Regions from separate parts of the Homo sapiens genome. Here all the other regions are linked to region 3. Evidence: promoter capture Hi-C in 16 types of primary human blood cells and fetal thymus (Javierre and others, 2016). All regions are on one chromosome and are shown on one strand. The core of a region is centred on a gene start or on the middle of the fragment in contact, and the rest is flanking DNA. Distances in the headings are between cores, read along the strand shown.

What was found. The method cuts DNA at HindIII sites, captures the fragments that hold promoters and counts their contacts. A CHiCAGO score of 5 or more calls a contact.
Region 1: a contact is called between a fragment that was not itself captured here and the fragment with the promoter of ST7L in region 3, in 1 of 17 cell types (naive CD8 T cells). The highest score is 6.0, in naive CD8 T cells.
Region 2: a fragment that was not itself captured here is called in contact with the fragment with the promoter of ST7L in region 3 in 1 of 17 cell types (fetal thymus); the score reaches 5.5 in fetal thymus.
Region 4: a fragment that was not itself captured here is called in contact with the fragment with the promoter of ST7L in region 3 in 2 of 17 cell types (total CD8 T cells and naive CD8 T cells); the score reaches 8.4 in total CD8 T cells.
Region 5: the fragment with the promoter of TRIM33 here is called in contact with the fragment with the promoter of ST7L in region 3 in 7 of 17 cell types (naive CD4 T cells, fetal thymus, total CD8 T cells and 4 more); the score reaches 10.3 in naive CD4 T cells.
Region 6: a contact is called between a fragment that was not itself captured here and the fragment with the promoter of ST7L in region 3, in 7 of 17 cell types (fetal thymus, naive CD8 T cells, total CD8 T cells and 4 more). The highest score is 14.9, in fetal thymus.
Region 7: a fragment that was not itself captured here is called in contact with the fragment with the promoter of ST7L in region 3 in 1 of 17 cell types (non-activated CD4 T cells); the score reaches 5.8 in non-activated CD4 T cells.

What each region holds. Positions count from the first base shown.
Region 1 is chr1:113,817,694-113,821,557 of GRCh38, reverse strand. It overlaps PTPN22 (protein tyrosine phosphatase non-receptor type 22), which reads left to right. Exons shown (of 21, transcript NM_015967.8): 20 at 1,904-1,981. All of the region lies in intron 3 of AP4B1-AS1 (AP4B1 antisense RNA 1), which reads right to left. Among named protein-coding and RNA genes, the nearest start is that of AP4B1-AS1, 7.0 kb to the right of the region's middle. The HindIII fragment of the contact is 8,296 bases long and covers 1-3,864 here.
Region 2 is chr1:113,944,586-113,948,110 of GRCh38, reverse strand. All of the region lies in intron 2 of HIPK1 (homeodomain interacting protein kinase 1), which reads right to left. Among named protein-coding and RNA genes, the nearest start is that of HIPK1-AS1, 17 kb to the right of the region's middle. The HindIII fragment of the contact is 269 bases long and covers 1,168-1,436 here.
Region 3 is chr1:112,617,319-112,621,224 of GRCh38, reverse strand. It overlaps ST7L (suppression of tumorigenicity 7 like), which reads left to right and starts at 2,084. Exons shown (of 15, transcript NM_017744.5): 1 at 2,084-2,316. The coding sequence starts at 2,112. CAPZA1 (capping actin protein of muscle Z-line subunit alpha 1) reads right to left here and starts at 1,393. Exons shown (of 10, transcript NM_006135.3): 1 at 1,342-1,393. The coding sequence starts at 1,380. RefSeq lists enhancers at 1,111-1,560, 713-1,912, 2,021-2,120. The HindIII fragment of the contact is 828 bases long and covers 1,761-2,588 here.
Region 4 is chr1:114,337,445-114,341,161 of GRCh38, reverse strand. No RefSeq gene overlaps it. Among named protein-coding and RNA genes, the nearest start is that of TRIM33, 170 kb to the left of the region's middle. The HindIII fragment of the contact is 3,280 bases long and covers 1-2,890 here.
Region 5 is chr1:114,509,755-114,513,256 of GRCh38, reverse strand. TRIM33 (tripartite motif containing 33) reads left to right here and starts at 2,054. Exons shown (of 20, transcript NM_015906.4): 1 at 2,054-2,706. The coding sequence starts at 2,181. It overlaps LOC124904348 (a long non-coding RNA gene), which reads right to left and starts at 1,919. Exons shown (of 2, transcript XR_007066452.1): 1 at 1,332-1,919. RefSeq lists enhancers at 95-857, 1,718-1,887 and silencers at 2,078-2,187, 2,218-2,517. The HindIII fragment of the contact is 2,747 bases long and covers 1,218-3,502 here.
Region 6 is chr1:113,928,716-113,932,290 of GRCh38, reverse strand. It overlaps HIPK1 (homeodomain interacting protein kinase 1), which reads right to left and starts at 2,967. Exons shown (of 16, transcript NM_198268.3): 1 at 2,759-2,967. It overlaps HIPK1-AS1 (HIPK1 antisense RNA 1), which reads left to right and starts at 2,766. Exons shown (of 3, transcript NR_110726.1): 1 at 2,766-2,929. RefSeq lists silencers at 2,237-2,546, 2,567-2,616 and an enhancer at 2,737-3,056. The HindIII fragment of the contact is 158 bases long and covers 1,724-1,881 here.
Region 7 is chr1:114,582,216-114,586,295 of GRCh38, reverse strand. It overlaps DENND2C (DENN domain containing 2C), which reads left to right. Exons shown (of 21, transcript NM_001256404.2): 21 at 665-3,446. The coding sequence ends at 696. LOC105378914 (a long non-coding RNA gene) reads right to left here. Exons shown (of 3, transcript XR_947719.4): 1 at 3,897-4,080; 2 at 3,658-3,771. Among named protein-coding and RNA genes, the nearest start is that of BCAS2, 2.6 kb to the right of the region's middle. The HindIII fragment of the contact is 4,180 bases long and covers 1-3,836 here.

The sequences.
Region 1 (3,864 bases), core at 1,021-3,520, 1.2 Mb before region 3:
GAGGTCAGGAGTTTGAGACCAGCCTGGCCAACATGGTGAAACCCCATCTCTACTAAAAATACAAAAAATTTACCCAGGCGTGTTGGCATGCACCTGTAGTCCCAGGTCCTCGGGAGGCTGAGGCAGGAGAATCGCTTGAACCTGGGAGGCGGTGGTTGTGGTGAGCCGAGATTGTGCCATTGCACTCCAGCCTGGGCGACAGAGTGAGACTGTCTCAAAAAAAACCCCAAAACAAACAAACAAAACAAAACAAAACAAAAAAATCCATGATGAGCCAAAATAACAAAATAGCAGTTTCCTCTGATATATATGTGTGGAATCTGTGCCTCCTTTGTAAAAAAAACAATATTCTCCTTTGAGACAATTTTGTTTTCTTTCTGAAGGATGTATATAACTTTCAGCTCCTATGCAGTATACAGATTACTGATATCTCCTGAACTTCCTCACCTTTACTACTTTCTATTAATGTCTCTATCTTCAGTGCCTACAGCAATGCTTAGCACATAGTAAGTATTTAAATATGAATAGTATTTTATACTTATACTTTATATTAAGTATTTTAATATATTAAGTATAATAATTATACTTACTATAGTAATATAGTAAGTACAAAATAAATATGTATCTTAATTAGATCTGATTGAAATTCAGTATGTAGTCTAGTGATTCATACTCAGGTACCTCCTCGAAAAGGAAGGTGTTTCTAGAATCCTAGTATTACGTATGCATGTGCAAATATGCATACCTAATATGCATATGCAGTTCACACAGTGCATTCTGAAAATGTTGAAAACAACACAAAAACACTTAATATCTTCCCATTTATATGCAATTTGTTAGAAAGTTTATACAAACCTGAAATTATCTTTTTCCATTGCCAAGACAGAGAATGTGCAAAATGTGGACAAAGTTTTTAAGGGACTGTTTTCAAAACTGCAGAAACTGATACATGAATATATCAATGTACATATATGACCTATGAGTAACTTATAAGTTAACTTATACCTATAAGTAACTAAAATAGCAAAACAAAGCAGCATAACAATGCTTTTGGGAGATTATTGGCCTAAATAATAATAATTATTATGTTTTTTTGAGACAGGGTCTTGCTCTGTCACCCAGTCTGGATGGAGTGCAGTGGCGCAATCTGGGCTCACCTCATCCCTCTGCCTCCCAGGTTGGATCAATTTTTGTGCCTCAGCCTCCCAAGTAGCTGGGATTAGAGATTTGCAACACCATGCCTCGCTAATTTTTTTTTGTATTTTTAGTAGAGACGGGGTTTCACCATGTTGGACAGGCTGGTCTCGTACTCCTGGCCTCAAGTTATCTGCCTGCCTCAGCCTCCCAAAGTACTGGGATTACAGGCGTGAGTCACCGTGCCCGGTTATGGGCCTAAATTAGAATCACTTATAATTAGAAAAAAATCAGGCTGGAAAGTGGAATAAAAAAAGAGATTCCAGGGTAGAGGATTATATAATACAAATAAAAGACTTGTCATGGATGAATTATTGTGGAGAAGAAATGATGTAAAAATGTACTAAGAGTGGCCAGAGGAAAAAGTAATATGAAGTCCAAAGCCAAAATGTGAATTTCAAAAAAAAAAACAAAAAAATGCTGATTCATGATATATTGGATCTTATTTCCTTAGCAATTTTCTTTAGTGTTGGGCTTTACTATACAATCTGTTTGCAAAGAAAAGAAACCTTTTAAGAAAAAAACCAAAAATACAAATGAGAATATTATAGTGTCAACCCATTTGTAAGCACCTACATTTTGTTAACATTTGACAGTGATATGTTTATTTGGGATTATTAATTACTCTTAACAATTATATGTGATCTGATCAACAGTCATCTGAGTCTGTCTTTAGTCTTTCCCTTATATTTTTTTCTTTTGATTCTAGGTATCTGTAATTCTTGCCCACCAAACAAGCCTGCAGAATCTGTTCAGTCAAATAACTCCAGCTCATTTCTGAATTTTGGTATGTGTGTTATTTTACTGAAGAGTTAAAAAAATTACCTAAATTACTCATTTACAGTATAACTGATTCAACTTTAAATATGATTTTAGGTTGCATGTATAGGTCCTTATGTTTATATTCTTTTCCATGCAATTTATCTTTTTATTTTTAACCTTAACTACCTCTTAACATCTCACACAGAACTAAATTATCTAGTATATGTGGAAAATAAAGCTAGGTAACCAAATTATTGTGTTGGCATGTAGTAAATAAATATGACTATCCAAATGGAGAAATTGAGATGCTGTGATATTCTGGTTCATATCTAAAGCAAATTTATAAAAAACATAGAAGTATGATAAAAAGAACAGCAGTTGCCACTATTTAATCTTATATAACTAATTCAATAGTAGGAAATGAAGCACAATTCTGACGGTTTTAAGGTTTGCTTACCCAATTGCTCCTAAGTATAAGCTATAAACTTAAAACAATAATTTTATATTCTTCTAAGCATTCTATTGTCCTATGTGATACATATTTATGTACTATTTAAAGTAGTATCAGGTATAATTTTTTGTAAGAATAGCAATTAGTGGTAGGCTATTACTACTAAAAATTATTATTAACCAATCCCCTTGAAAGAGTGTGAGGCCTCCAGGAGTCCCTGAATCACACTTTGAGAACTGCCACTTAATGGTATTGTCCTTACTTACACAATCAAAATTAGGTTGCCGCCACATGCAGACTGTAGGTGGCAAGAAAAGAGGAAAAAGTGGAGGTGTGGCCTCCTCTTCTTACTCTTCTGGTCTTCAAAGGCACTGGCCTGGAAATGGCCAGATCATATCAGCTCATATTCCCTTGAAGAGAACTTAGACATGTGCTATAACTAAATTGCAAAAGAGACTGGGAAATGTAATATTGCTGGGCAGACAGACAAAATTGCCTACACACAATTCTATTTGAGGAAGAAGCAAAGAAGATATTGGTGGATGGGGAGCAATCTCTGCCACGCCTAAGTTAAGAGTCCCTGTGTCATCTTCACAAAATGTTTAACTAAAATTTCTGGATCTGTCTTTTTTGCCATAAAATTTTGTTTGGATTTCATTAACTCTGAGGTTTAAAAAGTTATAATTTAGGCTGGGAGGGGTGGCTCACATCTGTAATCCCAGCACTTTTGGAGGCTGAGGCGGGCGGATCATGAGGTCAAGAGATCGAGACCATCTTGGCCAACATGGTGAAACCCTGTCTCTACTAAAAATACAAAAATTAGCTGGGCATGGTGGTACATGCCTCTAATCCCAGCTACTCAGGAGGCAGAGGCAGGAGAATCGCTTGAACCAGGGAGTCGGAGGTTGCAGTGAGCTGAGATTGCGCCACTGCACTCCATCCCGGCAACAGAGCGAGACTCCATCTCAAAAAAAAAAGTTATAATTTAAAAAATAAGTTATGATTTATATGAAATCATTTAGCTAAAACATTCACACAGAATATTGTAAAAACTATGAAAAAAGCAAGCCAGGTGGTTCATGCCTATAATCCCAGCACTTTGGGAGGTTGAGGTGGGAGGGTCCCTTGAGCCCAGGAGTTGAAGACCAGTCTGGGCAACATAGCAAGACCATCTCATTTAAAAAAAAAAAAGGAAAAAAGAAAAAGAAAAAAGCTCCCAACTTTACCTGGAACATAAATGTTCTCTGCTTCCTTCTTTACTCTAAATCAGTGATACAACTTGAGTACTCTAGGCCTACCTAGCTTAACAACAGTCTACATAATCTAATATGAGGATAAAATATTAGAGAGCTGCCTCCATGTTGCTTCCTCTCAAATATGCCTAGATTTGAACATTTTTCCTACTTAAAAAGCAGCATTTTCATGCCTGTAATTCCAGCACTTTGGGAGGCTGAGGA
Region 2 (3,525 bases), core at 53-2,552, 1.3 Mb before region 3:
CTTTAAACTGTGAATCCAGATTATAATTATTAGAATTATTTTCATTACATCTTTCCTCTTGGCCTCCTTATTTCTTAATCCCTCAATATAAACTCTACAGACACGTAAAACTCTGGTTCTACCTCATTTGTGTAATAAGGAAACAGAGTTAGATAATTACTCTTCTAGGTCCCTTTCCAGCTGTAACATTCCAACAACTGGGCAGTAAAAAAGGTTATCTACAGAAGCACAGGAAAGTGAAAGAAACTGTTAAAAACTGGCAGTGTTCACTTCAGTAGGAAAATGGCATTAATTGTGCTTTGAACATGGCAAGTCTCCTCTTTGAAGACACATCCCATCCTTAAAAAACAAATACTAAACAGGCTCTGGTTATTACAGCTAAGTGATAGAAACAACAATCCCTGCCTTTTGATTCCCCAACTTCAAACTTCTTTAAGTTGAAAAATTCTTCCAACCAACATTGTTGAGGTTAATTTCACTGGCACCCAGAGCAAGCTAAGGTTAGGATCACTTAACACAAATCACTCTGATTATTTTCATGAACATTTTCGTTTCTTTCTTCCTATCTCAGAGACATCAAACCTACTTACTTACCAATTAGAGAGGTTACATAAAACCTAACTTCCTGCATCAGTGGCTTAGGTGAAACTATATTTTGACTGCCAGAGGAAATTAGATTATTTGTTTGTCTAGGATAAATGGAAGATACGTTTTCCTTCTCTAGACCTTTTCCTTCCGTAAGTAACAAAGTGATTCAGCTTGAAATAAAGGCTGGCTAGTTTGTTCAGTAGGGAAAAACATTCAGCCTGTAAGCATGGCAAACCTTTGTCTCTAAAACTCAAGCCCGAAAGACAGGAGCTTTGCTTGGAGTCTGTGCACATTTACAGTGAGCCAGAGAGTAAAGTATATTATTTCCACTGCCTGAATCATTTAGCCATGCCCAGGGCCAATGGACACAGCAAGTTGGCAAATTTATGTGAGCTGATAATACTGGCATATTATCAGAAAGACAAAGCAAGGTAAACTAAAAAGGTGGGTAAGAGAAGGACTAGCTTTGGAGTCAAAATGCTTCACCAGCCAAACAGATTTCACAGAGGTTTTTTGAAAGACAGAAGGGTGAGGACTTAATGGACTCTAATATGGCAACAAAGCAACATCAAAGAAGCTTAAGAGGACCACTGCGGGTAAAACTAGTGATAAAGAAGGAATGCCTGAGCTGCTGTTCCATCTGCCTTAGGCTCATTATCAAGTATTACTGTGACACAACAGAACACTCATGTTAAATCCTAAACACTGTCAAGCCCTGGGCACTGAACTTCAGTATACAGAGTAATTACTCAGTAATACACAGAATGAACTCCTGTTTTTAAGAGGCAAACTTAGCTCCACTTAAAATTATAGTCAACAACTATATTGCAGTGAATTTAAAGAAAGCTTTGTCGAAGGGTAACTTTGAAGATTTGAAAACCTTAGTTTCTATAAAAAACAAAACCAAAATGAATCAATTGACAGCTTAAATTAAAAGGATAAAAAATACAAAGATCAGCAACCTAACACTGAAAATTATTCAAATGAATTACACATTACAGAAAGCTAAGCAGCCAAATAATTCATTTTATTTTGTATTAACATGCCCCAATTATAACAAAGCCAAATAATTTTTATCTCCTATTGCTCTCCCTTTTTCAATTTAAAAACTACTCTGTTATCACAAGAGAATGCACTTTGTCTTTGACAGGGCAAACAAATAGTTAAAGAACACCTGCAGGCACAGAGTCAAGACAGAAAGGAAGAGCTGATCAGCCCTCTTCCTTCAGCTGTGGTCTGCCTAGTCCCTCCTGAGGACTCAAAATGGGATGCTGCGCTGAATTCTTCAGTGCACCTGTAGAGTATGTTATATATATGTTATGTTGGTGTGGCTGGTGGTGAGACTGCTCAAAGGAGAGCATTAAAAAGCAAATGTAGTTGGAACCTAAATCTCCCAAGGCATAAATAAATAAATGGAGATGACATTCTTAAAGTTAGCCAAGGTTGCCTAGGGCAGCATAAAACCAGAAAACAAAGGCTCTAAGAGTTTATTTACCTTACCTCAAGTAAAAAATACCAGTTTTATAAAACTGTGAAAAGATATAAAGAAATAAGGATGGACTGACTTACTATTAAGCTGTCAATACTACCCAAAGTCATCTACAGATTCATCGCTATCCTTAATAAAAAGCAATTATGGTTTTTGTATAAAATAGAAAAACCCATCCTAAAATTTATATGGACCCTCAAAGACCCCAAATAGCCAAAACAATCTTGAAAAAGAACAAAGTTGGAGGTCTCACACTTCCTGATTTCAAACTTACTACAAAGCTACAATAATCAAAACAATGTGGTACTGGCATAAAGACATATATAGATTAATGGAATAGAGAGCCCAACATTGAAAATGGGAAAGCAATAGAAGATAAGAATTATTTGTATATATGTTCAAATGATTCCAACAAGGGTGCCCAAACCACCCAATGCAGAAAGGACAATCTTCTTAGCAAATGGTGTTTGAAGAACTGAATAGTCACATGCCAAAGAATTACACTGGATTTGTACCTTGGACCATAGACAAAAATCAACAAAGAATCAAAGACCAAAATATAAGAGCTAAAACTATAAAACTCTTAGCAGAAAACATAGGGGAAAATCTGTATGATTTCGACTTAACAGTGACTTCTTGGATATGTCACCAAAAGCACAAGCAACCAAAGAAAAAGTAGACAAACTGCACTTCACCAAAGTTAAAAACTTTTCTGTGTCAAACACTATCAACAGGTAAAAAGGCAACCCAAGGAATAGATGAAAATTAAGTATATAGAGTATACAACTCAACAACAAAAAGCCCAATTCAAGAAATGAGGAAAGGACTTAAATAGACATTTCTCCAAAGAAGATATACAGATGTCGGGCACATAAAAAAATGCCAGGCTGGGCATGGTGGCTCATGTCTGTAATCCCAGCACTTTGGGTTGCCGAGGCGGGCATATCACTTGAGCCTATGAGTTTGAGACCAGCCTGGGCAACACAGTGAAACCCCGTCTCTACTAAAAATACAAAACACTAGTCAGGTGTGGGGGTGCATGCCCGTAGTCTCAGGTACCCGAAAGGCTAAGGTGGGAGGACTGCTTGAGCCTGAGAGGTCATGGCTGCAGTAAGCCATGATTGCACAACTGCACCCCAGCCTGGGTGACAAAGTGGGACTCTGTCTCAAAACAAAACAAAATAAAACAAATGCTCAACATCATTAATCATTAGGGAAATACAAATCAAAACCACAATGAGATACCACTTCACACCCATAAGAATGGCTATTATTGACCGGGCCCGGTGGCTCATGCCTGTAATCCCAGCACTTCATCACGAGGTCAAGAGATCGAGACCATCCCGGCCAACATGGTGAAACCCTGTCTCTACTAAAAATACAAAAATTAGCTGGGCATGGTGGCACCTGTATTCCCAGCTACTCAGGAGGCCAAGCTAGGAGAACTG
Region 3 (3,906 bases), core at 835-3,334:
GAACAATTTATTATAGATCGATTTCCAGCATAGGCTTATACATAAATGTTTTTGTCCTAAATCTTAAACATGTATGAAGATCAGTTTCCAAATAAGAGAAAATCTAACGCTGTTGTCAATGGCTTGTTAAACATTTCAAAATGGCATGCCATATCTACATATATCAAGTTATTCCGTACAGAGGACTTATGGATCATAACAGTCCCCTTCCCATCCCAACTTCTTATTGAAAAAAACACCCAGGTAGATTTACAGAGCACTCAAGGGGACACATTTTCTAATAGCCACAGTGGGAGACAAATGTCATAATTCTTGTCCAATAAGTTGCCTTGTGAGGTCATTCTAAGTTCTACGTGCCCTAAAACCATGTACTTACTGAAAAGCCTGACAAACTGTTATGAAACTGTGCAACTGTCAGAAGAAAAGTTATTCCACCTTAGAATGTGCTCTTGTATTTAAGACCCTTTTCAAGAAATGAGCATACAAAATGCACACTGACAAATTCAACTGATCAAAGACTCCACAGTGGAGCATCAAAGAAGGCAGGATGCTTTGTTCAGTCTTGAACGTGTTAACATAAGGTTTATTATGTGTTACAGAAAACCTTTCTGGAGGTTAAGAAAATCCATCAGCTATTCTAGATTTGTTAACAAGAAACAAAATTTTCAAAAATTATCGTTAAAAGGGATGTGTCTATAGGGAAAGACTGGTGTTCAAATTCTGAAGCAAATGCCCTGAGGCTCACAGATTTATTATAGCGAATCAGACAGGCGACAGTACAGGAGAAAAGTAGTGCATGTGTAGGGAGATGGACAACATTTGGGACCTCTCCTTGTCGAAGAGTCGTGACAGCAAAATCACTTCCTGAGGAAGGAGGAGCAAAAGGGAAGTTAAGAGGCCATCCTGACCAGGAAGTGACTCGCCCTAAACTAACCCCAATTATATCTACAAATGGGGGGATGGGGTGAGCCCCAACTGCTAAAGGCGGTAAAATAACTGCTTTTTGATATGTCGCAACATAACCACCACCCTCTCGCAAAATTACAGAAAAAAGTCCACAGTCACGATCCAATAAAGGAAACGTCTGTTCCCTTGCAGGGAGGCCCCTGGGCTGTGCCTCAGGCCTGAGAGAAAAGGAGAGTCGAGGAACGAGGAACTGGGGCCACCGTGAGGCAGAGGAAAGCCCCCTAAGAGGGAAGCGTCCCGACTGCGGAGAGCGTATGTCAGCATGGACCAAGAAGCTTCTTTTTCCTGGGGACACTGCTAGGCTCCCAACGCAGCCGGGCCGGGCCCCAGTTCCCTGTCGGGGGAGGAGGTAAGAGAGAGAGGCGGACCCCTTACCTTCTCCTCATCCGACACACGATCATCGAAGTCGGCCATCTTGGGCTGTTCTGGCCCAGCCCGGCTACGGGCGCGAGGCAGGCCGGGAAGAAAGCCGAGTGATGGAATCACCGCGGCGGCCGTCGGAAGGACCCGCCCGGAAACGCCGACCAAGAGGGCCCCATGTCAGTTATGCGCGGGAGTGACGTCTCCTAACGCCAGCGCCCGCGCCCGCGCCCCAGGAAGTAGGGTTTGCCTTAGGTGATTTGAAGTCTAATATCTTTCCCAATGAGTTACACTCATTTCCCATCCATCTAATGGGCGCTGGCAGCGTGTTTCGATTATTCTTGGCTTCTGGCCTCCATCCGACCAAATAGCTGTTGCTACTCCTACAAGTTTTTCTGGTGCCCGTTATCTCCACGACAGCCGAATCCAAAGCTTTAAGAGCTGCTCGGCAGCTGGAACGATCGGTGGCTTTTCCAACCCCGGGGGGGGGGCGGTGTGAAAGGTGACCCTCATTTCGTTTGGAAGCGGTAACACTTCGGGGTCACATCTCAGTCCAGTTCCTCCAGAATAGGCGCTGCTGTCCGCCCCTTCCCTGCCCCACGAAAGAACAGGTAGCCCCAATCTTGAGACACGCTCCTCCACCTTCGAAATCTTCTCGGTCCCGGTTCCCCAGGACTCAGCCTTCACAGAGGCCAACTTCAGGTCCGCCACTATCCCAGGATTCCCGACTCCCGGTTTCCTGTCCTTCTCCCCTCCCAGCTCCTGGCGCCTGCGATAGCGGCAAGATGGCGGACCGTGGCGGCGTGGGTGAAGCCGCAGCTGTTGGAGCGTCTCCTGCATCTGTCCCTGGCCTAAACCCGACGCTAGGCTGGAGGGAGCGACTGCGGGCCGGGCTGGCGGGGACTGGGGCCTCGTTGTGGTTCGTGGCGGGGCTGGGGCTGCTTTACGCCCTGAGGATCCCTTTGAGGCTGTGTGAGAATTTGGCAGCGGGTGAGAGGACCAGACCTCCTGGGGCAGGGCGGGGGGCCAGGAGAGATGTCGGGGGCAAGAGCCAAAGGGCAAGAGATTCTCGGTAGTCCTAGAGGGCCTCTGAGGAGTCGATGATGAGCGATCAAGTGAGTTCTTTTTCTTTTGGGCTGCAACCTTGCAGTTGATTGACAAGCCTGCTGCCGTTACCGGCTCCTCCGTAGAACTCTTAAGGTCCGCCCTCTCTCTTATGTCCTCGTTTTTCCATGGAAAAGCCACCTGACAAGCTATAAGCTTCAGGTATTAGGACAGAAGAGTGTCTCAGATTAGGATACGTAATTTATATTGGCTCCCCCACCTCTGGTAGGATCCCTTAAAAGTCACTACTTTGAGTCTCCCGCTGCCCAGCTGAAAGAACTCATATCCAGGCAACAAAGATGAGCACATCTGTAATTTAAAGATTTCAGAGAAAGAAAATGGCATGATTTTAATTGAGGATTCTCTTGTTTTAAAATAGTTCTGTTAAGAAATCGTTTTCGTGATAGTTTTGTCTGTTCTTTTAGGCTTATCTTGAGTAATAAAATAGTACAGGAAGTGAGAGCGCCACAAACAACAGTGGGTTTGCTAGTTCTTTCGACGTCTGTAGAACACTTGCTACGTATTCTGTGCTGACAATACGAACACATGTAAGAAGTGATGATCCTGATGGATTCTCATATACTGTACTATTCTTTAGCTGTAGACAGGATGAAGTGTTTAGGGCCCAGGTCCCCTTACCATGTGATTATATTTCACTCAAGATCTGAGCAGCAACCTCAGAACAAGATATAAGTATTTCCATTACATGATTCAGTATGGTGGTTGATTTTTCTGAAGCAAAAGGCAGCAAATGTCCCCTTTCCTGTTCAGAGATGACATGAAAGACTGTGAGTTAATGTTCGGAAATATTTTGGTTTTTTTGGAGGATAGGTATCAAGTTCAAATATAACTAGCACTCTAAAATAAGCTAAACTGAAGAGCTAATTTGGCATCTCTGTAACAGGTGAATGAAGTGCTTAACGGTGGTTTCTATGCACAGTGTTACTGATTGACTTGTCATTTATTTTTCTACGTTAACCATATGCAACATTTAGATGAGAATAGTTGATTACTATAGATTTTTCTTTTTTACGTTTCGTGTGTGTGTGTGTGTGTGTGTGTGTGTGTGTGTGTGTGAGAGAGAGAAAGACAGACAGAGTCTCCCTTTGTCACCCAGGCTGAAGTGTAGTGGCAAGATCACTGCAGCCTTGAACTCTTCTGCTTAAGCGATCCTCTGGCCTCAGCCTCCCAAGTAGCTGGGACTGCAGGCGTGCACCACCACGACTGGCTGAGTTTTAAATTTTGCGTAGAGACTGGGTCTATTTTATTTGCCCAGGCTGGTCTTGAACTTCTGGCTACCAGTGATCCTCCTGCCTTGGCCTCCCAAAACTCTGAGATTATGGGAGTGAGCCATCCTACCTGGCCAGATTTTTATTTTCTTTCTAAAACCCACAGTACTTATGAGATAATTATTTGAAGTGAAAAATCTGCTCCAGGATTTCAGTAACTCAGGGAGATTTCTGTTTGTTGCTTTTC
Region 4 (3,717 bases), core at 1-2,500, 1.7 Mb before region 3:
TGGTATCCTCCCCACCTCCTTTAAGGGCATGTCCTGGAGATGACCCATGCTGTGGTTTGAGTGATGGTGTCCCCTCCAACATTTACATATTGAAACTTAATCCTCATAGTGGCAGTATTAAGAGGTGGGGCCTTTTGGGAGATGCTTAGATCATGAGGGCTTCTCCCTTGTGAATAGGAATAAAGCCTTCATAAAAGAGCCTTCACAGAGAGTCTGGCCCTTTTTTGCCCTTCTGTCATGTGAGGACATAGCATTTTTCACCTCTGGAGGATGCTGCAACAAGGCACCATCTTGGAAGCAGAGAGCAGCCCTCACTGACAGCAAACCTACTGGTGCCTTGATCTTGAACTTCCCAGCCTCCAGAACTGTGATAAATAAATTCCTGTTCTTCACAAGTTACCCGGTCTCAGGTATTTTGTTATAGCAGCACAATGGATGAAGATAGCCCACCTTTCTTCTTTCACTTCATTGGCCAGAGCTGGTTATATAACCATATCAGCTGAAAGGAGGCTGGGTTAGAGAGAACAAGAGAGTGGATATTGATGGAGAACTTCAATTTCTACCCCAGACTTCATCAGTTAGCCCCCATCAAGTCAGGTTGGATCATTTTTATTACCATTCCAGCCCTCTTGTCTATTATAACTACCATGATTATCTTGTCTTTTGTAGTTAAGTGCCTGAAATCAGCTTCTGCTATTCTGGTATCTTTCCTTTTCCATTAAAATCAGGGATCCCATTTCAACTGCTTACAATTGCATCTTTAGTTTACGGAAATCAGTCACAAGACTGCTTCTCAGAGATAGAGGTGCTCCCTCACCAATCTGGGCCCTCTTCTGGGCCCTCTTGAGAGAGAATTAGCAGATGAATGGGTAGGTGACACATGATAAATCCTCTCCAGCACTTCTATATTCCGAAATTTTTGGATTATTTCTTCCATTGTTTCATGGAATTTCATTTCACATGAGCCACTGTTGAGCCCACATTTCAAAACAACTGACAGGCAGCAATTAGGGCCACTTGCAATGGCTGGAGATAGCACACTGTCTCCTGATTTCTGGTGAGCATACTCCTGATTAATTTCAGGCTGATTTAAAATAATGCACGGTGCTGGACACTGTGGTGCACCACTGTATCCCCTCTCAGAAATGAAGGACTTACTCTCCCAGCTGCTGGGAGTGGGCCCTCAGCCAGCAGCTCACTCTGGGGATGCCTTGAGTGAAGAAATGTCCCTAGCCCAAGGTCATGTCCCCATCATGAAGCAGCCACATCCAACGACTGGTCAAAGTTGGGTTAACAAAGGCTGGCTCCTTGGTTCCAACTCAGAAGAGCTCTAAATGACCATCTAGCTCCAGAGCTATGCTAATTGTGCGCACAGCACAACTGCTTCCTTGCCCAAGGCTGCTTCTGTCCCTTCTGCTCCACAGGGGTGGTCTCAAGCTCACTTCCTGATAAAGGTCTTGCTTGCTAATCTCCACCTTAGAATCTGCTTATCTGAGTCTTTTGGTGGGGATTTAACTTTTTAAGTAATCAAAAGCTCCACTTCCTGCTTCCAGGTCATGCGAGAGTCTGACTCTATTTACAGACTTATGAGCCATGAGTGACGGCGTGGAGGAAAGAGGCATGAGCAGAGCTGGCTTCTTTCTGTGAGGAAGTCTGTGCACAGAGTTAGAGCATCTTCAAACTACGCAGGAGCAGCCTCATCAGACAAGGGAGGGACATGCCTTTTAGCTGGCAAGAGAGACCCGGAGGGTTCCATGTTTGGTGTTCTATGAGTCTCCGAGATCTTCCCAAATGTCCTTATTACAATTTTGGGGGTCGCTGTCTTTTTTTGGGGCGGGGACATGGTTTTTCTCTGTCGTCCAGGATGGAGTGCAGTGGTGCAGTCTTGGCTCACTGCAGCCTCAACCTCCCAGGCTAAGTGATCTTCCCACTTCAGCTTTCTGAATAGCTGAGACTACAGGTATGCAACACCATGCTCAGTTAATTTTTTTTGTAGAGATGAGGTCTCAGTATATTGTCCAGGCTAGTCTTAAACTCCTGAGCTCAAGTGATCCTCCTGCCTTGACTTCCCAAAGTGTAGGATTATAGGCGTGAGCCATCGTGCCCCATGTAGGGGCCACAGTCCTTTCTGAACAATGCCCTATCCTTTATATAACATACCTAGGGAGTTTTGATATAGAAGTTAAGAAATTACTTAGGCAGATAGTGAGGGTAGGGAAGTCCTCAGTAAGATTTTCCTTTTAATGAAAAGCAGCCCCAAATCATTTTCCCTTCTAACAAAGAGCAGCCTGTAAAATTGAGCTGATAGATACCGGCAGTTGTGCCAATCATGTTCAAAATGGTGGCCCCATCTTCCCTTCTCTTTATCAGCCACGTGTACAGTAAAAAGGAGACAAGGTGGCACGGGTCAGCAGGAGAGTTCATTTACATAATAAGATTAGGGCAGGGTAGCCAGCCTTCCCCGGGGCTGTGTAAACATCATACCTGATCCAACCAATCTGTGAGCCCTACGTAAATCAGGCGACATCTCCTCAAGCTGGACTATAAAACCCAGTGCCTCCTCCACCAGCTGGTCATTTTCTGTTGGGAGACCCCTCTCTAGAGAGAGAGCTGTTTCTATTTCTCTTCTCTTCTCTCTATTAAATCTCTGCTCCTAAACTCCTCGTGTGTCTCCCTGTCCTAAATTTTCCCGGCGCGAGATGACGAACCCCAGGGTATATACCCTGGACCATGTAGCTGCTTCAGTATGTCACCTCAGCAGATGTTGAAATTTGGCAATGCACTTCTGTGCTTGGCTTTCAGCTATGCTAGCCTTAAAAGACTGTAAATAAGATATCATTTTAGCACATTACTGGAAAGTCTTTGAGTTGGACATTTAGAGATTTAAGCTTGTCTTCTTTTTTTTTTTTTTTTAACTCTCTTGTTCTCTTGGGAAAAGCTACATTTACAACAGTCTGTATGACTCAAGCTCTTCATTTCATTCTATGCAAGTAGCGATATGGTCTTCAAAGTTTTGCCTTAATGAATTCTTCATTCCAGGTGACTATAAGTGAGCATTTAATTTGAGCAATTTACCACTGTGAGCCACTGACTGCCAGATTCCCTGAATATCAACTGGATTTTAGTATTCTGACTAGACTTATAACCAATCTTCCGGCAAACTCTCCATTTCCTTGTGGCTCTGTCTTGTTGTAAATTTCTTTACTAGTTGGGGTTCTTCAGTGCAAACAACAGTAACCCACTTTGGATGACTTAATCAGAAAAGGAAATGATTTAGGGAGGATATTGGATAGCTCACAGAGACTGCAGTGGGGCTGGAGAACCAGGTTTAGAAAATGAGCAGGAGCCAGGGTAGGATGGGGTGGGGTATACTATGGCCACCCCCACAGGATGCAGATACTCCTGCTTGGACCAACACAGGACGCTGGATGTTACCACTGGCGTCATTTGAATGAAATTTCAGCTATCCCCTGCTTTTTTGTTTCACTAATGAACAAAGCATTGAGCAGAATTAGCTGATTGGCAATACTTGGGTCATGTGACTCATGACCTCAGATGTCATGGAGAGTAAGTATCTGGCCTTTTGGACTTTTGGAGAATTAGTGGGTGTGATGTCTCCGACCAAATCCATACAATGGGAGAGCCTCTGGCATATAAAGTAGGTTCATAAGATGCAGAGCAGAAACCGAACAAAACCAAACCAAGTTCATTACATCC
Region 5 (3,502 bases), core at 805-3,304, 1.9 Mb before region 3:
AAAGGGCACAAAAGTTAAAAAAAAAATTGAAGACCATTTCTGTACATGACCTGGCTCCCTTAATAACTCTCTTATCTCATGTCCTACTATTCTCTCCCTTGTTCAAGCCACTCCAGCCACACTGACTCCTCCTCTAACAAGCCAAGAATCCGTTTCCCTCAGGCCCTTTGCACTTGTTATGTGTTCCTCTCCTGCTCTTCTCCAAGACAGGTTCCTTCATCTGATCAACAGGGGCCTTCTTCAATCACCTCTAACCCCTTTTACCCCACTTATTCTTTTCTTCACAGCACTTACCACTCCCTGGCATGTATCTATTCTCAATCTTTTTCTCTATTAGATTGTAAACCCCTTGAATGCAGGGAGCTCCTCTGTTTTGTAATCCCAGTGTATCTCTAAAACACTATGACAATAAAGAGGTCAGGAAACATTTTTGAATAAATTTTAAAAAGTTTTCAGGAGGCTGGGCGCAGTGGCTCATGCCTGTAATGCTAGCATTTCCAGCGGCTGAGGCGGGCCAATCGCTCGGGCCCAGGAGTTTCAGCCTGGGCAACATGGTGAGACCCCAGCCTCTTCGAGGCAAAGGGAAAAAAAAGATCAGCTAAGTCATGGTGGCGTGCATCTACGGTCCCAGGTAATTGCGAGGAGCACGGCTTGAGCCTGGGAAGTCGAGGCTGCAATGAAATGTGATGACGCCACTGCACTCCAGCCAGGGCGACAGAACGAGGAGGTCTCAAAAAAAAAAAAAGTTTTCACGTGGTTTAAGGACTTACAGCACCTTTCTTGGGAACACTAACAGGAGACCAAAGCATTTCATGATCTTAACACTAAAACAGTTGTTGCACTACATAAAATCCTCCAAATACCTTTTTTTTTTTTTCAAATAAAAAGGCAACTTTCTGAAAGCTTTTCTTTTTTTTTTGAGACGGAGTTTCGCTCTGTCGCCCAGGCTGGAGTGTAGTGGCGCTATCTCGGCTCACTGCAGCCTCCGCCTCCTGCCGGGTTCAAGCCATTCTCCTGCCTCAGCCTCCTGAGTAGCTCGGATTACAGGCGCACGCCATTACACCCGGCTAATTTTTATATTTTTAGTAGAGACGGGGTTTCACCATATTGGCCAGGCTGCCCACGAACTCCTGACCTGACCTCAAGTGATCTGCCCGCCTCGGCCTCCCAAAGTGCTGGGATTACAGGCGTGAGCCACTGCGCTTGGCCTGAAAGCTTCTACTACCATTGTTGTAAGGGCATTTGTCACCCAGCTCAACCCAGGACACTTAAAGTGGGACCTCAGAAGGACGCAGTATTGGTTATATCCGTGGCTCTCCAAACTGACATACATAAGAATCAGCTGAAGGGACTTTTCCCCCTCCGTCGGCTCTCTCCCTCACTTCCTGATTCAGGTCTGGGGACTGGCCCTGGCATCTCTGCTTTGAAAAACTCCTCCGTTGATTCTGATACGTAGCAACTCCTGAGAATCACCTTAAGATGCCAAAAATAGCTGTTAAAGAGTTTCTTCCTCACTCGGTCTTTTCAGCCTATTTCTGATAGATCCTCAGTTCAAAAACAAAAAGCAAAAAAAAAACAAAAAAAAAAACCAAAACCAAACAAACAATAAGCCCCGCTTTAGTGCTCCACGGCCACCCAAAGGAACGCGGCTGGTCTACGCACAGCAGAGACCCAGGAGGTCCCGGCGATCGAGCGGCGCGGCAGGTGAAACTTCCGCGGAGACGCCCGGGACACGCTCGCAGGGACCGGAACCGTCCCGGCTACCACCCTTCCGTATGCACCACCGCTGTGTCGGAGTTCATAACCAACCCCAGCCAAAGGCTACCCAGCGTCAACGGCCTCTGGCTTTAAAAAAAAAATCTCCCTTCGGGTTAAAGAGCCGCGGCACTGACGCAAGGAACTGGCTTCGAGGGTCCGGGACCGCTCCGCGCCCGCGAACCGAGTTCCCGCCTCCCTCGGGAGGACGTCCGTGCGTACGTGCGCGTGCCGCAACCGCCCTCCTTCAAACGCGCGACGCGAGGGCGGGGGCGCCGCGTGCGCGCGCGCTCTCGTTGGTTCGCTCTCTCGCTAGCTCTCGGCTGCCGCTCTTGCTGCGGCTGCGGCTGGGGCTGGGGGCGGCGGCGGCGGCGACGCGGGCGGCGGGCGGCGCGGGGCGGTCCGGCGGGTTCAAAGAGGAAAACATGGCGGAAAACAAAGGCGGCGGCGAGGCTGAGAGCGGCGGCGGGGGCAGCGGCAGCGCGCCGGTAACTGCCGGGGCCGCCGGGCCCGCCGCGCAGGAGGCGGAGCCGCCTCTCACCGCGGTGCTGGTGGAGGAGGAGGAGGAGGAAGGCGGCAGGGCCGGCGCTGAGGGCGGCGCGGCCGGGCCCGACGACGGGGGGGTGGCCGCGGCCTCCTCGGGCTCGGCCCAGGCTGCTTCATCTCCTGCGGCCTCAGTGGGCACTGGAGTTGCCGGGGGCGCAGTATCGACGCCGGCTCCAGCTCCAGCCTCGGCTCCCGCTCCGGGTCCCTCGGCAGGGCCGCCTCCTGGACCGCCAGCCTCGCTCCTGGACACCTGCGCCGTGTGTCAGCAGAGCTTGCAGAGCCGGCGTGAGGCGGAGCCCAAGCTGCTGCCCTGTCTTCACTCCTTCTGCCTGCGCTGCCTGCCCGAGCCGGAGCGCCAGCTCAGCGTGCCCATCCCGGGGGGCAGCAACGGCGACATCCAGCAAGGTGAGCCGGAGGCCCTGCCTGGCATCTGGGCCGCAAGGGATTTGCGCAACCCTAGAGGAGCTGGGGACGGAGGTGCTGGGGCCTGGGGCTGCTCGGACGGGCGCCATCCCGAGGGGTCTCTAAGGTGAAAGACTCGCCCCTGGGACACTTTCCAGAGAAGCTGGACCGCAAGAGATAAGGGGAGCATGAAGGGAGGGGTGCCGGCTGCGAGAGGCTGGGGGAGGGGACACTGGCTCCGAGGGAGGGTTTGTGATGTGCGGAACCCGGCCGAGCGCTGGTTCTGGAGCTGGCAGACCCGTACAGTGAGAGAAGGGGGATTTGGGAAACACGTTGTGAGGAAGCGTTTTGGCTGAAAGGGCCCGGGCCAGCGAGGTGTTGAGGGAGTAGGTAAGAGGTAAGGGCAGTGAAGATGGATTGCTTTGGAGGGAGGGGACTTGGCGTGTTCACAGATAGGAGAGAGGAGGACTATGGATTAAATGGAGGTGGAGAGAATATGTTGGAGAGCAAGGGGTCCAGAGAAGGCGCCTGGAAGAAAATTGTAAGATGACATGGGGAAAGAGAAACTCGGAAAGTGGACTGCATGGTTAGGGAAAATCCTAAGGTTTGGGGATGAAGGAGAAATGAACTTTGAAGGAAATTGAGAGTTAGGGAAAGCTGGGCATGAATTTGTTTTAGCTAATTGGCCGTTAATGAGCCCCTAGTGTTGGGGCACTGTGCTAGGATTGAATAAAGTACTCAATGAAGACTTCATTCACAGTCTAACAGGAGAAACATATAACTTGCAGCAGTGGAGGTG
Region 6 (3,575 bases), core at 553-3,052, 1.3 Mb before region 3:
TAAGCACTCTGGGAAAGCACTGTACCAGGTACCCTTAAAGAATCTAAAAGAAATGTAAGTTTCCTTACCTTCAAAAAACTTAAAATGTTGCTGAAATGATATAACACATGAAAAAGAAAGAAAAATATGAAAACAGGATGTAAATTTTTCAAGTGCCAAATTATGCACTACAGGAATATATTAGGCATTTAGGAGCTGGGTTCCAACAACTAAAGGGAAGATCAGGAACAAAAACAAAAGGAACCAAAAGACAAACCAGTGATTGTTGAAGTGGTACTTAAAGGAAAATAATCTTGATGACTTGTGTTCAGAATGGCACAAAGGGAGAGGAAGGGAAGATAACGGGAGGAATAATAGTAAATTTTTTTTAAAAAGACCTAAAAAATACAGACTGCTGTTATACACTCATGCAGGTGGCAGATCAAGCAGCTCATGTTTGCAAAATTACTTCAAATTACAAGACCAGTTACAATATATAACTAACAAGCTGCACAAGTTCCAAGTGTAAGAACTTTACAAGGCCGGTATGACTCACTGATTTGTACCAACAAATCATTGATGGAGCTGTGCTTATAAAAACAAAAGCACAGAATGAAAGAAGTTTATTTTCCAAAGAATTGTGAACTTTGAGATTATCTCTTCTTTTTTTTTCTTTTAGAAGGAAGTTCTGGTTTGGTTTGAAGTCTCAAGTTACCAACGAACTTGCTCAAAAAACCACAAAACTACAGTGTCGAGAGATAAACTATTCATGAAGGTATCACCAGCAAAAGTTCTACTTGCCAACCAGAGCCAGTATATTTATAAGATCTCATTCACCATTTTATTCTAAGATACTTTACTGGCTTGGCTGCCTCCAGTTCCAACCGCAAGTACTTTACTAAAATATCTTTCAAGCCAGGAACAGTATCTTAAAGTCAATGCCACCCTTCATCATAACAGTATTATAACACAGAACCCTGAGATAATTACATGTAAAGATCCAAAATCACCAGCTGAATAATGAAAATTAGGTCAAATGATTTGTTAGATTTTAAAATGTTTTATAGAAAGCTTTAGGCTTCCATATGAAAAAAGCTAGTAATAGTTTGCATTCTCTATAATCTTACAAAAAAAAAAAAAAAACCCACAGACCAGAGATCAAAAATAGCTTTACACAAACAAAAGGAAAATTGTAGGTTTGCTGAGGGCATCAGCCACTTAATTTAACCCTATTTCATCAAGAGCGGGAAGCCACACTGCTGTTTTCACCAGTTACTAAGAAACAAGATAAAGGACAGATTGGGACAGAGAGTCTATAGCTGAAAGTATTATGTTGATGCAATTACTGAGAATTCCCAAAGTGTCACTAATAGACAAGAAAGAGCATCTAGGACTGCCTCTAAATGAGTCTACCTACAACAGAATCAGTGATTAAGTAAAGAAAAGACTTACTGGAGCTTGGGGGTTTTCCCCCCCTCTTCCCTACCCGCATCCTCCCATCCTGAACCCCCCTCCCCAAGTAGGAAAGAAAGCTCGCCCAGCATAAACACAGGCCATTGCTCACAGCTCGTCACCACAACAAACTGGAGGTTAGACCAACGCTCCTGGAGACGGAACTCCACGTCTTGGTTGCTAAGCACAAAAAGGGGACTCTTCCCCACAGACCTGTGAACAGTGTGGGCCTTACCAGAATTTTGGTTGTTTCTCCACCTTCCCCCTCCCTTTTGTTTTTTTAACGAAAGCTTTGAAAGTGGTGGCAGCAAAAGTTTCCCTTTGGGCCAGACCTCTAGATCTCCCTTGTACAGATATACATTAGGTGGGCTGGTCTCACGTAGTCTCCACCGTCATTACGAATTACAAGCCTAACGACTACAGAACATCAGCGGAGACGACAGAAAAGCTTCCACACCCACCCCACTGTCGTCCTCTCCAGGCACGGCTTCCTGGTCCCAAACAGCACAAATAACCCAAAACCATGGTGATAAGCGGAGCTGTGAAGTACACACGCACAAGCCACACACTGGGAACCTGCCACGACAGCCGGGGAAAAAACCGGCCGAGTGAGGAGACGCAAGGCGGTCCCCTGTCACTTAAGGACAACACGCCCAGGCGAGAAGTGGCAGGAGGCAGGGGGAGTTGCCCCGAAAACCAGCCCGGAGCCTCCCCACCTTCCTGGGAAGGCAATCCCCTCAGCGGCAGTGAGCGGCCGGGCCGCAAGACGCGGCGCCCGGTCCCAGGCAGGGGCCCTTTGAGGAAGGCGCCCCCGGCAGGCTGGGCGCTCCAGGAGAGCCGGCGGCCGGCCCGGCCCCGCCTCAGGGAGCTGAGGGGAAGTCGCTCCCCGCCGAGGACCCCTCCTGCCCGTCCCCACTCACCGCCGGTGTGTCTGGTTCTCAGCCGCGAGCTGGGGCTGCCGTGAGGAGGCGGCGGAGGAGACGAGATCTGGGGCCCCGCAGCCGGGTCATCATACCCCCCGCGCGAGCCGGCCCGGGCCCCGGCCCCCGCCCCCCGGAGCCGTCCCCGCGCCCGTCCCGCAGGGGGAGCCTCCTCAGCCTCCCTCCCGCTCCACCACCCAGCCCCTTCCCGCCGCCGCCGCCGCCGCCTCAGCCCCGCGCGCTCCCGCCTCGGCCTCCTGCTGCCGTCCGGGGCTACCGCCGGGCCCCTTGCTCCGCAGCCGCCGTTGTCGCCAGACCCGACGAACGGAATGCCGAGCGGCCGTCCCTCAACCCGGCCGGCCCCGCCTCGCCGGAACTATTCACCCGCCCCGCGCCATGACACCTACTGAGGCGGAAGTGCAGCTGAATGGACTCTCTAGGACGATCGCATAGTACTGATTGCAGTAGGAGTCGGTGGGCCTCGAGTAGGTGGGCCTCCGTAGGGAGCCAGCGTGGATCGAGTGCGGGGCCTGGACTTCCCGCCCCCTCCGCACTGCAGACTCTGCGGTGATTTAAAGGTGCCTGGCGGTGGTACGGGATCCAACTGTAAAATGTCATCCCAGCTAGTGTGACATCACCACAGTTTAGTGTGACACCCCCAGAGCTTGGGCAGTGTACGGGACGACAGTGCCTAGCAGAGGAGCTTCACTGCCGGTGAGGGATTACCTCAGGTTAGGCTTTAATGTTTCGTTGCCGTCTAGAGACGTTCTAGCAATGTGACATCTGTGTACCATATCTGGAAGTCTCCCTGTACGTCAAGAGCCCCTTAGGGGAGTCTCCCATTGCCGCCGTGGGAACCTGTGTTTACATTACGAGGAGAGAGAATAGCTGTACTCTGAACTCAAACGCTCAAAACATGCAGTGAGCGAATGCTAGCATAATTTTCTTGCCTCTACCAGAAGGAAGGCTGGGTATTTAGGAAACAGAACGCGTTGGGCACAACATTCTGAGAAAATGGACACAGAAAATTAGGTTATCCTAATAGAAAAGCAGTTGCATCTCCCAAAGTCAAGAGATTCTGTAGGACTTCCGATGTATCTCCTGCTGTGTAAAATATTCAGGTTCCTGAAGTGGGGGACATTTTTAGGGCAACTGTAATTTCTTCATTTTTTCCATCCCACAAGTGCTGGAGGCAGCAGTGATCTGAGCTCTAGAAAGTGACTG
Region 7 (4,080 bases), core at 497-2,996, 2.0 Mb before region 3:
TCCAGATTAAAAACACTTGGTTTAGAGGGACTTCTGAGGCAAAAGAGGATTTCTTACAAGTCTCTAATTTTCTACTTCATACAGAAACACATTTATGATTTTTCAGTAATAGTTAATTAGTATGATACAAGAGAACAGGGGTGTGGCTAGCCTAAAATAATGAATAACCTATATGCTACGATATTTATATTTTGTCTTTGAAATATATGCCCCCTAATTAGGCCCTGTCCTTCACTAGCTGACAGACCATGGACAAATTAGGCCTTAGGCTGTTATTTCATCTTTATACAATGGGGTTAGATTAGATCAGTGGTTCCCAGCTCTGACTACATTTTATAATTTCCAGAGAACTTAAAAAAAATTTTCCCCTGGGCTCCAGGAAATCTCTGGGGAGAAGCCAGGTGATTTTAACCTATAGTCAAGGTTGAAAACCACTGGATTACATGATGTCTGAGTTCTTTTCTGCCGCTACAATTAACTAGACATATGGGGTTTGGGGTTCATTTTTGTTTTTGTTTTGGGGGTTAAACACATCAACTGAGTTTGAGATGTCAGCTTAACTCTTGGGCTGTTCTGAATGACTGACCTGTTAATCCCTTACCTCAAATAATGTACAATAAATAAAAATGAATTGAGCATTCACTGTACTTTTCTTTCCCTTTAGGAAGCAAAATGAAATTTCTGCAAAAGAAATGAAATCTCTGATTGTCTCCATCCTGAATATACAACAGAAAGTGCCAAAGAAAATATTTTTCTAAGGGTCAGGATCCCATGAAGTATTCTACAAAATTCTTGAAATTTTAAAAGGTTAAAGAGCGAGTCAGGCTGTTAGAGGAGGATTCTCCTGTTGCTGCTGTAGTAATCACTGGAGAATTGTTGGGAATGGTCTGGCACCATGCCATCTTTACTCTGTCTCCATTTTTTTTTTATAGCAGCCTTTTCTATGTGATTCTTGGGCTCATTCTCTGTTTTGTGCTTTGTCTGTGAAAGTAGTTGTGTTTCACAAGGAAAAGCCTTGTTGTTGTTACATTTAAAAAATAGCTCAAAGATGAGAATAATGAGAGAAATGCTGAGTTTAAGGTAGTAGAGAGACATGATGGAAATGGAGAACACTAGCCTTATACACATAATTCTCATCACTGAACTATCATGGCCCCTTTAAACCCATGGGCTGTTTGACCTGGGCTAAGGAATAGACTCATCACATATCTCCATTGTTTTGCCTTATATTATATCTAGGGGAATCTCACTTAGGAGGAAGCCCTACTTGTAATATTATAAGGTACTGTTATTAAGTACCTTATAAAATTAGACATCTTGCAACTCCTCCTCCAAATTATGTGGCATTTGAGTAGTTTGCTTGTGCCTCACATGTCAACATTAAACTTTGTGGAGGCTGGATGCAGTGGCTCACACCTGTAATCTCCACCACTTTGGGAGGCTAAGGCAGGAGTTTGAGGGTGGGAGTTTGAGACTAGCCTGGGCAACATAGCAAGATCCCATCTCTACAAAAACATTTTAAAAATAAGTAAATAAATTTAAACTTTGTGAAATTATAGCTAATATGAAAATGTCCTTTCAAGGGCATGGGAGCCACCTTTATTTTTTAGTGTCCACCATGTGCCATGCACTGTGGTATATGTATGCATATCATCTCAACCAATCCTTAAATCAACCTTATGAGATAGATATTTGCATCTCCATTTTACTAATAAACTGAGGCTGGGTGCTATGGCTCACGTCTGTAATCCCAGCACTATGGGAGTCCAAGGCGAGTGGATCATTTGAGGTCAGGAGTTCGAGACCAGCCTGGCAACATGGTGAAACTCTGTCTCTACTAAAAATACACACAAAAAATTAGCTGGGTGTGGTGGCAGGTGCCTGTAATCCTGGCTGCTCGGGAGGCTGAGCCATGAGAATCGCTTGAGCCCAGGAGGCAGAGGTTGCAGTGAGCCGAGATCGCGCCACTGCATTCCAGCCAGGGTGACAGAGCGAGACTCCATCTCAAAAAAAAGAAAAAAGGAAAAGAAAAAAGAAAAAAACAAATTCAAAGAAGTTAAATACGTTGCCCAAAGTTGTACAACACAGAACTGAAGCCAAGACTTTTATGGACACAGAAAAAGTTGGTTAGTCCTACAGATGGAAATTTCATCTCAGTAGGATTATATAGCTATTTCTTTTATTAATAAAAATTTTCTATTAAGTGTACCAGAGCCACTTTTCAGCTCTGAGGATAAGGAACTTTATAGGTGCCTAGATGAGACTCTTTTTATTCCCCTAGAAATGTTGAAATTTTTGCTCTAATTAAATTAGACTCAAAATATGAACATTCCTTGAACATATACCACTTAGTCATCCAGACCTTTAATATCTAAAGTAGTAGTAGTAGTGATTGGAAAGAGAAAGTTTTCAGTGATGGTGCAGTGTTTTTTTTGTGTGTGTATGTGTGTGTGTGTGTGTTTTGTTTCGGTTTTTTTTTTTTTTTTTTGAGATGGAGTTTCGCTCTTTTTGCCCAGGCTGGAGTGCAATGGTGTGATCTCGGCTCACTGCAACCTCCGCCTCCCGGCTTCAAGCAATTCTCCTGCCTCAGCCTCCTGAGTAGCTGGAATTATAGGCACCCGCCACCACACCTGGCTAATTTTGTACTTTTAGTGGAGACGGGGGTTTCACCATGTTGGCCAGGCTGGTCTCGAACTCCTGACCTCAGGTGATCCACCCACCTTGGCCTCCCAAAGTGCTGGGATTACAGGCATGAGTCACTGCACCCGGCCTGTGTGTGTGTGTGTGTGTGTGTGTGTGTGTTTTCAAACTCATGGGCAAATTCAAGTTCAGATGGTGCACTTTTCATTGATTAATGTTATAGCAAATGTCAGTTTGTTTTCTTCAGTTTCTGCTGATGGTTTTAACTGGCACAGAAAGTATTTATTCAACCTTACAAAACTGTGTAAGTTGTATTGTGATACAGTTTATTGACTTGTACAGTATTGTCATTACAACCCATTCAGGTATGCATGAATCTGAAGCAGAACACCATTTAAGACTGGTGCTGTATAATATAATTCCTACAGATGTGGGTCCAGGGAATAGAACTGAGCCTGTCTTTTTTTTAATGTTAAGCAGGTTACCCCCAGTGGGGCTTCTACTAGACATCTCTCCATTTGGTCTCTTCTTACACTCCAACCCAGCAGGAACAGTTAATAATTGGATGTTTATAAAATGGGGGTAAAAGGGTTTACTGTGATGGATCCTGGCTATCCCTCTAGGAGGAGACCTTTGCTTCAGCAATGGTGTCTTCATCCTCGCAGCCTGAAGCTGCTTCATTTCCTTAGGTCTGTTGTGTTTTCTGTAAAGTGTTAGGAATTCTGGATATTTTTGTAAAAGAATCAAGATTTGTATAAAATGTTGTTTACAGATCTTTTAATGAATAAATACATAAACCCCCCACAGATCCCTTGGAGAATTCTTTAAGATCTTTTATGTCACTTAAATCTATAGCTAGCACATTTACCTAATGGTACTTCGGTAATAAGAATTAGTCTTAGACTGACCAGGCTTAATAACGGAGGTCAACATTTCCAGGCTCTTGGCAGACAAAGGCTGGGTCTAGACTGCACACTGGGCAGGGCATATAGTCTGACAACTTTATTTGGTTTTTACCTGCTTAATCAAAGGGAGGCTGCTTAGTCCAGGAGCCATGCAGAAGAGAGTGCATGGGCAGCAGCTTGAGTGGTTCGGAGGCAGTGAGGAATGCCATTCTATTACCGTTAAGTCCTAAAGGCAAAATGACAGGATTTTTAAGGAACTGAGGTTCCTTTTGATACGCAGACCATAAAGCTTCACAATTTTAATTGGAGACTGGCGCCCAATTCTAGAGTCTCTTTAAAAAATGTACTTACCCAATGCAAAGGTTTTAAGGGCACCGAGGGGGAAGGATAGTTGGGGTACAGCAAGGAAGTAAAAGAGGAATGACCCGGGGTGCAGTGGCTCACGCCTGTATTCCCCACATTTTGGGAGGCCAGGAGTTCGAGGCTAGGCTTGGCAACATAGAAAGGCTCCATCTCTACAAAAAAAATTAAAAAT